Regions from separate parts of the Homo sapiens genome. Here all the other regions are linked to region 3. Evidence: promoter capture Hi-C in human tissues and cell types (Jung and others, 2019). All regions are on one chromosome and are shown on one strand. The core of a region is centred on a gene start or on the middle of the fragment in contact, and the rest is flanking DNA. Distances in the headings are between cores, read along the strand shown. Region 1 overlaps ADAR (adenosine deaminase RNA specific). Region 2 has its middle 82 kb from the start of ADAR. Region 3 holds the start of DCST2 (DC-STAMP domain containing 2). Region 4 has its middle 49 kb from the start of ADAR. Region 5 overlaps KCNN3 (potassium calcium-activated channel subfamily N member 3).

Evidence for each region. The method cuts DNA at HindIII sites, captures the fragments that hold promoters and counts their contacts. A contact is called where the count stands out against the background at its distance.
Region 1: a contact is called between a fragment that was not itself captured here and the fragment with the promoter of DCST2 in region 3, in 4 of the 25 tissues and cell types used here (hippocampus, lymphoblastoid cells, mesenchymal stem cells and 1 more).
Region 2: a fragment that was not itself captured here is called in contact with the fragment with the promoter of DCST2 in region 3 in 1 of the 25 tissues and cell types used here (dorsolateral prefrontal cortex).
Region 4: a fragment that was not itself captured here is called in contact with the fragment with the promoter of DCST2 in region 3 in 1 of the 25 tissues and cell types used here (spleen).
Region 5: a fragment that was not itself captured here is called in contact with the fragment with the promoter of DCST2 in region 3 in 2 of the 25 tissues and cell types used here (dorsolateral prefrontal cortex and spleen).

The regions. Positions count from the first base shown.
Region 1 is chr1:154,600,632-154,603,489 of GRCh38, reverse strand. ADAR (adenosine deaminase RNA specific) reads left to right here. Exons shown (of 15, transcript NM_001111.5): 2 at 864-2,449. Among named protein-coding and RNA genes, the nearest start is that of ADAR, 6.1 kb to the left of the region's middle. The HindIII fragment of the contact is 4,304 bases long and covers 1-2,858 here.
Region 2 is chr1:154,688,858-154,691,713 of GRCh38, reverse strand. No RefSeq gene overlaps it. Among named protein-coding and RNA genes, the nearest start is that of ADAR, 82 kb to the right of the region's middle. The HindIII fragment of the contact is 3,971 bases long and covers 1-2,856 here.
Region 3 is chr1:155,032,161-155,035,151 of GRCh38, reverse strand. DCST2 (DC-STAMP domain containing 2) reads left to right here and starts at 1,371. Exons shown (of 15, transcript NM_144622.3): 1 at 1,371-1,718; 2 at 1,888-2,058; 3 at 2,384-2,485. The coding sequence starts at 1,451. DCST1 (DC-STAMP domain containing 1) reads right to left here and starts at 1,328. Exons shown (of 17, transcript NM_152494.4): 1 at 1,298-1,328; 2 at 1,055-1,180; 3 at 592-717; 4 at 425-499. The coding sequence starts at 1,115. The HindIII fragment of the contact is 8,066 bases long and covers 1-2,991 here.
Region 4 is chr1:154,656,131-154,659,153 of GRCh38, reverse strand. No RefSeq gene overlaps it. Among named protein-coding and RNA genes, the nearest start is that of ADAR, 49 kb to the right of the region's middle. The HindIII fragment of the contact is 9,513 bases long and covers 1-3,023 here.
Region 5 is chr1:154,738,162-154,741,157 of GRCh38, reverse strand. The region is part of intron 3 of KCNN3 (potassium calcium-activated channel subfamily N member 3); the gene reads left to right. Among named protein-coding and RNA genes, the nearest start is that of KCNN3, 130 kb to the left of the region's middle. The HindIII fragment of the contact is 3,387 bases long and covers 1-2,996 here.

The sequences.
Region 1 (2,858 bases), core at 68-2,567, 430 kb after region 3:
AGGTGGTGAGGAGCAGATGCTGCCAGCTCCACACATCCAGGAGAGCCTGGGTGGTTTGGGCAAAAGTCTCTGGCATCCCTTCTGAGCCTGGGTACCACACTGAAGAGTGAGGACAGTGTGCCATTTTTATCAGGAAACCCTCCAGCTCCCTGAAGACCAAATTCTGATCCTCCTGGGATGGCAGTGAAGAGCCACAGAGATGACTCTGAGGTCCCGTGGCCTTTTCCCACCTGGAGATTGTTTTCGTTACTGCGCTGTTACAGCCTTGGAGGACTGGGGTTCAGTTTCATCCAATCACATTTCTTCTTTTGTCATAGTCATCTAAACGATAGATCTTAGAGACAGGTGGGCAAGGGGTGCACTGGTGAGCCTGACTTAAGGAGAGGTCATCTCGTCCCTTCCCTAGTCCCATCTCCCTTGGTTATTGTTATTTCATGTGATTGTTCTGGTTATTTCAGGTTATTCTGTTTTTGTTTTCAAAACAATAACATATATTTGTTGTTCTGATTTTAAAGGGGTAATTGTTTTGGTAACTAGAAAATTACCTTCTCAACTCCCTTAAATTCTGTCAAAGGGAAAAGTAAGTTAGGTTGCTGGAGAGGCTATGCTGAGGCCTCAGAACCTCTGTATTCCTGGAAGTTCTGCGTGCTTTGCCTCCTGCTCCCCTCTCTGTGTTCCTGTTGGCAGGCCCCTAGGCAGGATTTAGGAGGTAGGCAAGTCACCCTAGCCAAGTCATAAGCCCATGGCTCAATTGCCTTCTCAGCCCTTCAAGGGCTGTTCCACAGGCAGCAAAGGGAGGGGCCTCCACAGGTTCACCACTGCAGCCCTAATTCATTTTCTTTTTCCACTGTCTTATTCTGCAGGGGTATTCCCTCAGCGGATACTACACCCATCCATTTCAAGGCTATGAGCACAGACAGCTCAGGTACCAGCAGCCTGGGCCAGGATCTTCCCCCAGTAGTTTCCTGCTTAAGCAAATAGAATTTCTCAAGGGGCAGCTCCCAGAAGCACCGGTGATTGGAAAGCAGACACCGTCACTGCCACCTTCCCTCCCAGGACTCCGGCCAAGGTTTCCAGTACTACTTGCCTCCAGTACCAGAGGCAGGCAAGTGGACATCAGGGGTGTCCCCAGGGGCGTGCATCTCAGAAGTCAGGGGCTCCAGAGAGGGTTCCAGCATCCTTCACCACGTGGCAGGAGTCTGCCACAGAGAGGTGTTGATTGCCTTTCCTCACATTTCCAGGAACTGAGTATCTACCAAGATCAGGAACAAAGGATCTTAAAGTTCCTGGAAGAGCTTGGGGAAGGGAAGGCCACCACAGCACATGATCTGTCTGGGAAACTTGGGACTCCGAAGAAAGAAATCAATCGAGTTTTATACTCCCTGGCAAAGAAGGGCAAGCTACAGAAAGAGGCAGGAACACCCCCTTTGTGGAAAATCGCGGTCTCCACTCAGGCTTGGAACCAGCACAGCGGAGTGGTAAGACCAGACGGTCATAGCCAAGGAGCCCCAAACTCAGACCCGAGTTTGGAACCGGAAGACAGAAACTCCACATCTGTCTCAGAAGATCTTCTTGAGCCTTTTATTGCAGTCTCAGCTCAGGCTTGGAACCAGCACAGCGGAGTGGTAAGACCAGACAGTCATAGCCAAGGATCCCCAAACTCAGACCCAGGTTTGGAACCTGAAGACAGCAACTCCACATCTGCCTTGGAAGATCCTCTTGAGTTTTTAGACATGGCCGAGATCAAGGAGAAAATCTGCGACTATCTCTTCAATGTGTCTGACTCCTCTGCCCTGAATTTGGCTAAAAATATTGGCCTTACCAAGGCCCGAGATATAAATGCTGTGCTAATTGACATGGAAAGGCAGGGGGATGTCTATAGACAAGGGACAACCCCTCCCATATGGCATTTGACAGACAAGAAGCGAGAGAGGATGCAAATCAAGAGAAATACGAACAGTGTTCCTGAAACCGCTCCAGCTGCAATCCCTGAGACCAAAAGAAACGCAGAGTTCCTCACCTGTAATATACCCACATCAAATGCCTCAAATAACATGGTAACCACAGAAAAAGTGGAGAATGGGCAGGAACCTGTCATAAAGTTAGAAAACAGGCAAGAGGCCAGACCAGAACCAGCAAGACTGAAACCACCTGTTCATTACAATGGCCCCTCAAAAGCAGGGTATGTTGACTTTGAAAATGGCCAGTGGGCCACAGATGACATCCCAGATGACTTGAATAGTATCCGCGCAGCACCAGGTGAGTTTCGAGCCATCATGGAGATGCCCTCCTTCTACAGTCATGGCTTGCCACGGTGTTCACCCTACAAGAAACTGACAGAGTGCCAGCTGAAGAACCCCATCAGCGGGCTGTTAGAATATGCCCAGTTCGCTAGTCAAACCTGTGAGTTCAACATGATAGAGCAGAGTGGACCACCCCATGAACCTCGGTAAGAGACCACCCAGGAACTGTACCTAGGGTTGGGGTCAGGTGCTTTTGCTCCTGACGCAGTCTTGGCTGATTTGTGAGCAGTGCTGTTTGGTGGCGCCTATCTTTTCCTCCTTCCCTTCTGCCTTTTAGCTAAATTCCCCTTGATTGGCCCTTTCTCCAGATATTGAGCAGGGAATATAGACCTTGGACCAGCCAGAATCTTGGCTGAACAAGGGGGAGGTTGACTCTGTTGGCTGTAATGAAGCTTCTTTAGAAATGATTGGTTTTGGCCGTACGCGGTGGCTCATGCCTGTAATCCCAGCACTTTTTGAGGCCGAGGCAGGCATATCACGAGGTCAGGAGTTTGAGACCAGCCTGGCCAACATGGTGAAACCCTGTCTCTACTAAAAATACAAAAATTAGCTGGG
Region 2 (2,856 bases), core at 104-2,603, 340 kb after region 3:
ACCTCGTGATCCCCCCTCCTCGGACTTCCAAAGTGCTGGGATTACAGGTGTGGGCCACCGTGCCGGCCAAGTTCAACACGTTTTAAAGGAATGGTACCATACAAACAAAATTCTCTGACTTCAGTGTAATATATACCAAAGTTCAGGCCGGGCGCAGTGGCTCACACCTGTAATCCCAGCACTTTGGGAAGTTGAGACAGGTGGATCACTTAAGGTCAGGAGTTTGAGACCAGCCTGGCCAACATGGTGAAACCCTGTGTCTACTAAAAATACAAAAATTAGCCAGGAGTGGTGGTGCCCACCTGTAATCCCAGCTACTAGGGAGGTTGAGGCAGGAGAATCGTTTGAACCTGGGAGGCAGAGGCTGCAGTGAACCAAGATTGCACCACTGCACTCCAACCTGGGCAACAGAGCAATACTTCGTTTCAAAAAAAAAAAGCAAAATAACCACCATACCTGGTGGAAGCTGAACTTGAAAAAAATAAATACATAAATAAAATTCAGTAAGCAAAAAATCGTAACTAAAATAATACCTTTGGAAGTTAAGAAACATAAATAATTTATGAATCAAAGAATAAATCATAAAAATTTAAATATGTAAAACAGAACATTAAGGAAAATGCTGTGTTTCAAAATGAGTTGAATGAAATTTTAAGAAATTAGAAAGATTAGGCTGGGTGCGGTGGCTCACGCGTGTAATCCCAGCACTTTGGGAGACCAAGGCGGGCGGATCACGAGGTCAGGAGATCAAGACCATCCTGGCTAACACGGTGAAACCCTGTCTCTACTACAAATACAAAAAAAATTAGCCAGGCGTGGTGGCAGGTGCCTGTAGTTCCAGCTACTCAGGAGGCTGAGGCAGGAGAATGGCGTGATCCCGGGAGGCAAAGCTTGCAGTGAGCTGAGGTCGCACCATTGCACTCCAGTCTGAGAGACAGTGTGAGACTCCGTCTCAAAAAAAAAAGAAAAGGAAGAAAGAAATTAGAAAGAGTAACATGAGATTTCCAAATAAAGTAGAATATACAAATAGAGACAAGAGCAGAAACAATTAATAGAAAGTAAACTCACACTAGATGAGGTTTTTTAAAAGTCAAAAGTTCTTCCTTTGAATTTACTAATAAAATTGATAATTCTCTAGCAGGATTAAACAAGAGACAGAAAAACAGAGAAAGGGAGAAAAGGGAGAGAGAGAGAACACAAAACAATATTAGGAATGATGCTACAAATGCTAAAAAGATAAGAAGATATTTGGAAATGAAAAATATTACTTACCAAAACGGACTCAAGAAGAAATAGAAAAATGGAATAATCATAGTATCATTTTTTAAACTATAAATGAATGAATGAATGATTCAAAATTTTGTCACAAAGAGGCTGGGTGCAGTGGCTCACGCCTGTAATCCTAGACTTTGGGAGGCCGAGGTGGGTGGATCATGAGGTCAAGAGATCAAGACAATCCTGGCCAACATGGCGAAACCCCGTCTCGACTAAAAATACAAAAAAAAGTTAGCCGGGCATGGTGGCATGTGCCTGTAATCCCAACTACTCTGGAGGCTGAGGCAGGAGAATCACTTGAACCCGGGAGGTGGAGGTTGCAGTGAGCCGAGATCGCGCCCCTGCACTCCAGCCTGGAGACAGAGCAAGACTCCGTCTAAAAATAAAAATAAAAATAAAAATTCTGTCGCAAAGAAAACTGGCCTAGATGATTTTGGCAAATTCTACCAAACATTTAAATAGCAAAGTAAATCCAATTCACATATTTTTTTCCTAGATCATAAGAAAAAAAGAAAAGAAAAAGACCACTTTCCAAGTCATTTTATGAGGCTAGCAAAGGATTGATATCAGAACCTGATGAGGACAGTACAAGGAAGGAAAATTATAGACAAGTTTTACTTAAGACTGTTGATTCAAACATCCTAAACATGCTGTGATCAAACCAAATCTAGAAATAGGTGTGGGAGGTGGGGGAGTACACCAGAATTAAATCTGACCCAAAGAATACAAGTTTTTTTTTAATCTTAGAAAAGTAAAATAAAATTTACCAATGAACCAAAGAAGAAAAATAATCTAACAATAATAGATTTTTTAAAAGATTAATTAAACATTGGTAAATTAAAAATAAAAAACAAACCCTGAGCATTGCTTCTGGCCAGGAATATGGCAAAGGTGATGAGATGTCACTCCCAAGATTATGCTTTTTTTTTTTTTTTTTTTTTTTTCAAATAAGATTCCATGTTAATGGACTGGAGAGATTTTCCTACTGGCCTTGATGCAACAGATCTGTTGTGAACTGCCAAGGCCTACGGCAGGGGGCTGTGGGCAGCCACTAGGAGCCGAGAGTGACCAACAGCCAGTAATAAGCCAGGGCCACCAGTCATGTAGCCACCAGGAAATGAATTCTGCCAGCAATTTGAATGAGCTTAGAGAAAAGAATATTCTCTAGTTGAACCTCCAGACAAGAATGCAGCCTGGCCAAATGTTGACTAATCCTTGTGAGACTCTGACCAAATAACCCAACTAAACTGTACCCAGGCTCCTGAACCATGGAAACTGAGGTAATAAATATGTGTTGTTCGAGTCACTAAACCTGTGGTAATTTGTTATGCAGCAATAGAAAGTTAATACAAAAGGGAACTTCCTTAACACAATCAATGGCATCTGCAAAATGATATCTTCCTAAAGCACACATCATTCTTACCGGTAAAATCAAGATGCCTGTTATTACCCCTCCACAGTGGAGGGTCTAGCGGTGTAATAAGGATGGAAAAATAAATAAGAGGAAAAGGATTAGAACGGTAGAAAATTTTGTCATTATTGGCAGCCGCTATGTTTATCTACCCATCTACTTAAAAGCGT
Region 3 (2,991 bases), core at 122-2,621:
CCAAAGCAAAACGGCTGGATGCTTGTCATCCTTGTTTACTGCTAAATCCTCAGCAGATTCTCAGTAAGTGCTGAGTGAATGAATGAATGAATGAATGAATTTAATTTCTTAGGAGGATCAGAAAACGAGGTCAGACAGGTCAGGAGAGATGAGAGTTATGAAGGGTTATGGGGTTGGACTATATCATGTGGGTGATGGGGAGTCCCTCGGAATGGAGAGACTCCCTCAGGGCAAGGACGGTGTCTTCCTTCTTAAATTGGCAGCCTCTTCCCTCTGGACCTCCCCGTAAAGCCCAGGAGGAGGCGGAAGCCACAGGGGATGTATGGGTACAGAAGAAACAAGTCCCGACTCCTTCCTGGGCATGCAGGACGGCGCTGTGTTCCACAGGCCGCTTGAGTGTTCCTGGCTTTTGCCCAGCACTAACCCACCAAGCTGTACAAGAACATAATCTTCTGTTCTTCGTAGATGTTCATGGGGTTCACCAGGAGCTGAAAGAGACCTAAGGGCACAAGGTCAAGCCAAAGGCCAAAAGATGGGTCCTAGCCCTGGTCCAGCCTCTGCCCACCCCGAACTTTCTGCTTCCACACTCACCTATGGCCAGGAGCCCCCCAGCGCCTGCCCCCAGCAGGAGAGCAGTGACAGGAAACTCGCCCGGCTGGCGCCACAGGAACCAGCTACAGGAGACTGGCAGCCCCCAGGTCAGGAGCCTCTGCACCGCTAAGAGGGGGACAGGGTAGCTCAACAGCCCACTCTTCTGCCTGGGATGGGGCTCATTAGGATTCAGGGCTTGCAGGTGGATAGAGGCTGGGGAAACCTGGCATGTGAAACAGTAGGAACTTAGGGGACCCTGGAGGAGGATGAGGGAGCCTGAGGAAGTGGTATGGGTGTAAGGGACAGCAAAGGCAAGGGCTGGGCTGGGAGGCGGGAGGCACTAGACCAGAGAGGTGGTGGAGGCGCGGACACCGAGTTGGGGGATAGTGTGCAGGAGTTCCAGGAGGAGAGATGGGATGAGAGTGGAGGTCAAGGGATACTGGGTCTCTGCTGAGTGACTCACTGGTATGAGGCTGTTTTCTTCTTTGCCCTCTTGTGCCATTCTGATGATGTTTAATGTCCATGAGTCTGTTTTGGGGAAGCACCACTCATCCCAGGTCTCCTGAAGGACCTCCTTGGACACAAGGTTCTGGTGAGAGAAGAGAGGTGCTGCCTGTCTCTTCCGCTTCATGGGAAGCCTAGGCCTGAGCTCTGGGCCTTTTAATCCTTCTGCTCCGAGAAGTGGGGAAGGAGATTAGAGACCTACCTATCCCCTCTCCAGTCCTCGGAACTGGGTCAAGGATTCCAAGACATATGCAGTGAAAGCCCTTTGGAACCTTAGAATACGGTGAGAAATTCCAGGAGCACAGAAGTCAGCGGGCATCTCCTGGAGACAGGCAGACATTTGGTCTCAGCAGCCATGCCCAAAGTCATGAAGGATGTTGTGCACCCCTTGGGGGGAGAGGAGCCTAGCATGGCGAGAGCTGTGGTTCGCAGCGTGGGAGGTTTTACCCTGGGCTTGTCTTTAGCCACGGCCTACGGGCTTCTGGAGCTACTGGTGGAAGGCCACAGCCCCTGGGGTTGCCTGGTGGGCACCCTCACTTTGGCTGCCTTCCTTAGCCTGGGCATGGGATTCTCTCGCCAGGTCCGAGCCACTGTCCTCCTGCTGCTGCCTCAGGCCTTCTCCAGTGAGCTTGGCACCCAGGGCTAGGGGGCAGGTCCTGGGGCTGGTGCTGGGGCAGAAGAGATGCTGGAGGAGAGGCAGGGGTTAAGGGAAATATTCTGAAGGCTTATGTAAGGGACTTGCTGCCATGTTTGGGGCTGGGGTCTTGGTTCTAACAAAGCTGTCGCCCCCAGGGCAGGGCCGGACACTACTGTTGGTGGCTGCTTTTGGGTTGGTGCTTCAAGGGCCTTGTGCCAACACTCTACGCAACTTCACCCGGGCCAGCGAGGCTGTAGCCTGTGGGGCAGAGCTGGCCCTGAACCAGACCGCCGAAGTGCTACAGAGGGCCAAGCAACCTCTTGTCAGTAAGTCCCCCACCTCTACCACTGTCTCCCACGGGCCCCCCTCGCCCCCCTCATCCTGCATGTTCTACAGTCCTTTGGCCTCCTTCTCTGCTGGTGCTAATCGCGGAGCATCTGGGCCTGGAAGGGACTCTGGGCACAGCTAAACCCTCTCTCCTTGCTCTCTGGCCTCCTCCACTCCCAGATTAACGATCTCCCAGGCCCCAGAATCCAGGCTTCCCGCCTCTGGAAATGGTGGCCTCCTCTCTACTCCCTGCTTAAGGGGCAATGGTGAGAACCAGCCCCTAGAGGAGAAGACTCCAAAGTGCCTCTGTCCCTCACCCATCAGGTGCCCTGAACAAGATTAAAGCTATTGCCCGGAAGACCAAAGAGGTGGCTGACCGGGTCCGCAAGTTCTTTCGGTCAATCATGGATGGTGTGAAACACATAGGTAAGCACATTAGCATGTCTATCCCGGGGACTCAAAATGCACCCAGTCCTGGCCGGGTGCGGTGGCTCATGCCTGTAATCCCAGCACTTTGCGAGGCCGAGGTGGGAGAATCACTTGAGCCCAGGAGTTTGAGACCAGCCTTGGCAACATGGCGAGACCCTGTCTCTATAAAAAATAAAAAAATAGAAAATAAATAAAACTAGCCAGATGTAATGACACATGTCTGTAGTCCCAGCTACTGGGGAGGCTATGGTGGAAGGATCTCTTGAACCCAGGGGTTTGAGGCTGCAGTGAGCTATGATCGTGCCACTGTACTCCAATCCAGCCTGGGTGACAGTGTGAGACTCCATCTCTAAAGAAAAAAAAAAGCGGGGGGGCCAGGTGCGGTGGCTCACACCTGTAATCCCAGCACTTTGGGAGGCTGAGGCGGTGGATCAGGAGGTCAGGAGATCAAGACCATCCTGGCTGACATCGTGAAACCCCGTCTCTACTAAAAATACAAAAAG
Region 4 (3,023 bases), core at 10-2,509, 380 kb after region 3:
GTGGCTCACGCCTGTAATCCCAGCACTTTGGGAGGCCGAGGGGGGCAGATCACGAGGTCAGGAAATCGAGACCATCCTGGCTAACACAGTGAAACCCTGCCTCTACTAAAAATACAAAAACAAAATTAGCCGGGCGTGGTGGCAGGCGCCTGTAGTCCCAGCTACTCGGGAGGCTGAGGCAGGAGAATGGCGTGAACCTGGGAGGTGGAGCTTGCAGTGAGCTGAGATAGCGCCACTGCACTCCAGCCTGGGCGACAGAGCGAGACTCCATCTCAAAAAAAAAGAAAAAGAAAAAGAAAGAAAGTCAGCAGAGAAATTAACAGCAAAATCAGACTCGCAAAGACTTCAGCATTGACGTGACCATATGAAGTAAAACAAATGAGGAATTGACAGGTTTTTAAGAAGATTTTAAAACATGATAGAGGAACAAGACTATAAAAATGACCTTGATATGAAAAAATGTCAAACATAAATTGTAGAAATAAAAAACAAAATTGCCGAAATTAAGACTTCAACACCGAAAAGGTTGGAAATTAATAACTTTAAATGCTTATAATTTAAAAAGTAGAGAGAATAAAAATAATGAGCTAAATCTCCAACTTGGGAAATCAGAAAAAGAACAGCAGAATAACCATGAGGAAAGTAGTAGGAAGAAAAAAATAACAATAAGTAGAGAAAGTAATGAAACTGAAAACGGAGGATCAACAAAGCCAAAATTGATTCTTTGAAGTTGAAAGACTTCTGGAAAAATTTAAGAGACAGAGATAAACAGCATGTACAGATAAGCAATACTGAAAACTGAAAACGAGATAAAAATCTATAACTATGGTTATAGTGAACATTTAAACATAAAAGTATAAACAAATCAATGCTAATAATTCAAAACTTAGATGATATGGAAAACGTCCTAGAAAATATAATTTACCAAAACAGATTCAAGACTAGAAAGGCAGAATGAATAGCTCTATAATAATTAAAGAAATTCAATCAGTATTTAAAGTGTTCCCGCAAAGAAAATACCAAGCCCTGATATTTTCCAGGTGAGTTATATGAAATTTTCAAGGAGAAGATCATTCCAATCTTATAGGAGTTTTTGTGGACGATAGAAAAAGAGAGAATACTTGCCAGCTCAGTTTTGGAGGCATCTCTCGCTATTTCTGTGAGGTCTTTACACATGATCTCTCTAGTATGGTGGCTTCAGGGTAGCTAGACTTCTTATGTGTTGGCTCAGGTCTCCCAAGATGCTTGGAGAGGGTGTGTGTACGTGTGGAGAGAGATAGAGACAGAAACGCACACACACACACACACACACACACACAGAGAGAGAGAGAGAGAGAGAGAGAGAGACATGATATGAGAAGTGCTAGCCTTAGACTTGCTTTAGCCAATGCAGAGTGAGCAGAAGTGACAGACTCCCAGCCAGAAGCCTAAGAGCCAGTGCATGCTTCTCCAAGTTCCCTTTTCCCTCCACAACTGGCAATGTTCTACAGTAGCTTCCCTTTCAGGCTGAGCCTCAAAGTAAGAATGATGAAAATGTGGAACATTCTAAGGATTTTAGAAGGTGAAAAAACAGATAGAAAAAAATTAAAATGTGGAATAGAGCCCCCTGACTCATGATGAACATGTAGCATGAGGAAGAAATAAACTTTTTTGGTTGTTTTATTGCCATAACACAACCAGTCTTTCCTGACTGGTATGGGCACCTGGGAATAATTGCAGTACTGATACAAAGAAGATCATGATGCTTTATTGAAATACATTAAGAAGAATTAAGTAAAAAGAGAGAAATATTATCAATGGCTAGAAAGTCTCAATATCCTAAATTCTCACCCAAATGTCTCATAGATTCAGTGCCATTTCTATCAAAACTTTAAAGTGTTTTTCATAATTTTGACAAGCCAATTCTAAAATATATGTGAAAGAGCAAAGAGCCAAGATGATCCAAGGTACTCTCTAAAAAAGAATAAAATCAGCAATTACATTCTTGGGCATTTATCCCAGAGATATGAAAAGTTATAGTCACCCAAAACCTATGCTCAGATGTTTATAGCCACTTTATTCATAACATCTCAAAACTGAAAATAGCCCAAGTATACTTCAATGGGCGAGTGGTTAAGCAAACTGGTATATCCATACCATGGACTAGGATTCAGTCATAAAAAGGAATGGGCTATTAATACGTGTAACAATCTAGATGAATCTCATGGGAATTATGCTGAGTTGAAAAAAAAAAGCCTATCTCAAAAGGCTACATACAGTATTATTTCATTTATATAACATTACTTAAATAACAAAATTATAGAGATGGAGAACACGTTAATTGTTGTCAAGAATTAGGAATGAGGGGAAGGGGGACTGGTTGTGGCTATAAAGGGGTAGCACAAGGGAGCCTTGCAATGATGAAGCTGTTCTTTATCTTGATTTTGGTGGTGGTTACACAAATATATACACATAATAAATTTGATACAAGACATGAATATAGACACCCAAGAAGTAAAATAAACTAAAGAGACCCACTCTGAGACACATTGTAATCAAACTTTTGAAAGACAAAGAGAGAATCTTGAAAGCAGAAAGAAAAAAGCAACTTGTCACACACAAGGGATCCTAATTAAGATTATCAGAGAACTTCTCATGAGAAACTTTGGAGTCCAGGAAGCAGCTGGCCAATATATTTGAAGTGCTAAAAGAAAAAAAAAATGTTAACCACGAATCCTACATCCAGCAAATGCATCCTTCAAAAGTGAAGGAGAAATTAAGACATCTCAAGATAACCAAAGCTAAGAAAGTTTATTACCAGTAGATCCACCCTACAAGAAATGCTCAAAGGGGTCCTGCAAGGCAAAATGAAAAGACACTAGACAGTAACTCAAAGCTGTATGAAGAAATAAAGATTTCAATAAAGGCAAACGCATAAGAAATCATAAAAGCCAGTATTATCGTAAAAATGGCTTATAACTCCACTTTTTATTTTCTATGTGATTTAAGAAATTATTAGTCTAAATGTTATTATAACTTTGGTT
Region 5 (2,996 bases), core at 166-2,665, 290 kb after region 3:
AATGAAGTTGTATCCCTGCCTCACACCATATGCAAAATCAATTCCAGGCAAATTGAAGACTTAGAAAGGCAACATTTTAAAATATGTAAAAATGTTACAATCTCAGGGAGGGAATGATTTCTGCAAAAACCAAATAACTGCTAATTATAAATTAAAGGATGATAAAGTCACCTACAGTAAAATTTAAAACTTCTATTCATCAAAAATACTGTAGAGAAAAAGGCAAGGCACACACTGGAAGAAGATATTTGCAACACACAAACTGACAAAATTCTTATTATCTAGAATATATAAATAACTTTTAGAATCAATGAGAAAAAACAAAAACAAGCCAATAGAAAAGTGGACAAAAGTCATGAATGACACGCCACAGAAGAGAAAGTATGAATGACAAAGAAACATATGAAAGGCTACTTAAGCTTTTATCATGGAAACGTAAAGTCAAGTCTTGATGAGATCCCAATTCACCCACTAGTGTGGCAGAGATTAAAGTCAGACAATGGCAAGTGTTAATGAGGATATGGAGAAACAGGAACTCTTATCCACCTCTGGTGGAAGCCTAATTGGCACTGGCATCTTAGAAAACAACTTGACATTTCCTAATGAAGTGAAATATGTACATATCCTACAAACCAGCAAACCCAGTCTTAGGTATGTGTCCTAGAGAAACTCTTATGCAGTGTACCAGGAGCTATGATTAAGAATGTTTGGGCTGGGTGAGGTGGCTCATGCCTGTAATCCCAACATTTCAGGAGGTCAAGGCAGGAGAATCTCTTGAGCCCAGGAGTTTGAGGCTACAGTAAGCTATGATTGTGCCACTGCAGTCCAGCCTGGGCAACAGAGTAAGACCCTGTCTCTAAAAATACAATAACAATAAGTCAATAAAAAATAATGTTTGTAGCAGTATTTCTCATTAGAGGAAAAACCCGTAAGCTATCCCACTGTCCATCAACAGGTGAATGAATAAATAAATCATGCCATATTCATATGATGAAATACAATACAGGAATAAAAATAGACTATAGCTACATATGTCAATATAATATATATGTTGAACAGAAAAGAAGCAATTCATAGAAGAGTTCACTGTATTAGTTATCTGTTGCTACATAACAACTTGCTCCAAAATTTAGCAGCTAAAAACAGCAGACATTTACCATCTCAGGGTTGCTGTGGGTCAGGAATTCAGGTGCAGCTTAAATGGGTACCTCTGCCTCAAGTTCTCTCATGAGATTGTCAGGCTGTCAGCCAGGGCTGTGGTCTCACCTCAAGGCTTGACTTAAAGAACACCTGCTTCTAAGCTACTCATGTGGTGGTTGGCAGGCTGTGTCCCTTGCCATGTGGCACTCCACGGGCTTGCCTCCCGACATGGCCTGTGGATTCTCCCAGGGAGAGTGATCCAAAAGATAACTAGTGAGAGATCACCCAAGACAGAAGCCATGATCTTACCATAACCTAACTTCAGAAATGAAAGTCTATCACTTCTGCCATACTCTATGTGTTAGAAACCAGTTACTTGGTCCAGCCCACACTCAAAAGGAAAGGATTGCAAAAGTGTGTGAAGACCTCAAGAGGAGGGGGGATATCGAGGTCATTTTAGAAGCTTCCTACCATACTCTTGTGGTATGATTTCATCCTTATGAAGGTCGGAAATAGGAAAAATGAAATTACATATTGCTTAGGTAATCCTGCCTACATGGAAGCACTATGAAGAAAAACGAGGAAATGATAAACATGACATTCAGGGTAATGATGATCCTGGGGTGGGGGGCACTAAGAATGGAGAGAACATACAAGTAGATCCCACAGGTTGGAGCTGGATGGTGAGTTCATGGTGCTTATTTTCTTTCTGTGTTTCTTGATGTCATTTAATGTTGCATGTAGTTTTGTTTTTTCTCTTTGGTTTGGTGTTCTGTTGATATGATCAAAGTTACATGTGCATACACTGTAGAGTCAATCCTTCCGTGGTATTTGCTGTCTTCCACCAGCTCTTCCCATTTACTGTTCTCCAGAGGCAGCTACTTTTACCTTCTTTTGCTAATTAATTTTAGTATTTACCTCCATGTCTGTAAGTAATATGTGTGTATTGCTACCTTTTGATGCTTTGGTTTATTTAGGTATTATCTATTCCCTTCCCACTCTGGGAGATGAAAATTTAGCTCCCTTTCCTCTCCTCCAACTCTTCCTCTCCCTTCATCTTCCTTTTATAATTACATCATAATTTTGGTTAAAGCAGTAATCAGTGTTTACATTACTCAGTCAACACTAATTTGACTCTATTCATAGTTGAGCCTTGTAGTAAAAAATATGATAACTTTTCCCTTCCTGCAGAACTTTTCATTTTTCCTGGAGTTGTTAATGATCGTGTTTGTTTGTTTGCTTAGTTTTCTATGTATTCGTCATTAATGCAAGTGCAAACTCTGGCAGTTGTCTAAACCTCTTTTCAGGATGTTCAGGCACATTAAGTTTCCTATCAATTTCATCTCCTTGGAAGTGTCTCCCAGAGCCTCTTGACCTGCTCCAGCCCGGACGGGTTGTCCTCCGCACCTGGTGAGCACCTGTCCTATGAGGGCCTCCCTGTAGCATCACCCTGAGCTCGTTACCTTTATTCCTTGTCTTCCTCCTTGGTTTACTTCTTTGTTTTGGTGAAGCATACCTCCTGTGTCTTCCTGAGAGAGGGTGCATGGGAGGCAAACCCGTGACAACCTTACGTATCTGAAAATGTCTTCGTTCCACCCTCAGACTGAACTAATACTTTGGCCAATTCAGATTTCTGGTCTCTGGTTTGGAATTCTGATTTGGAAATAATTTTCCTCCAGAATTTTGAAGGCTTTATTCCATGGCCTTCTAGCTTCCAGTGTTGCTGTCAAAAAGTCCGAAGCTGTTGTAATTTCTGGTTCTTTGTATTTGGCCTCTTTTATACCCTCCCCCAAAACCCCTAAAGCTCTGTAGGATTGTCTCCTTTCCCCTGGTGTTCTGAAATTTCACAATAATGT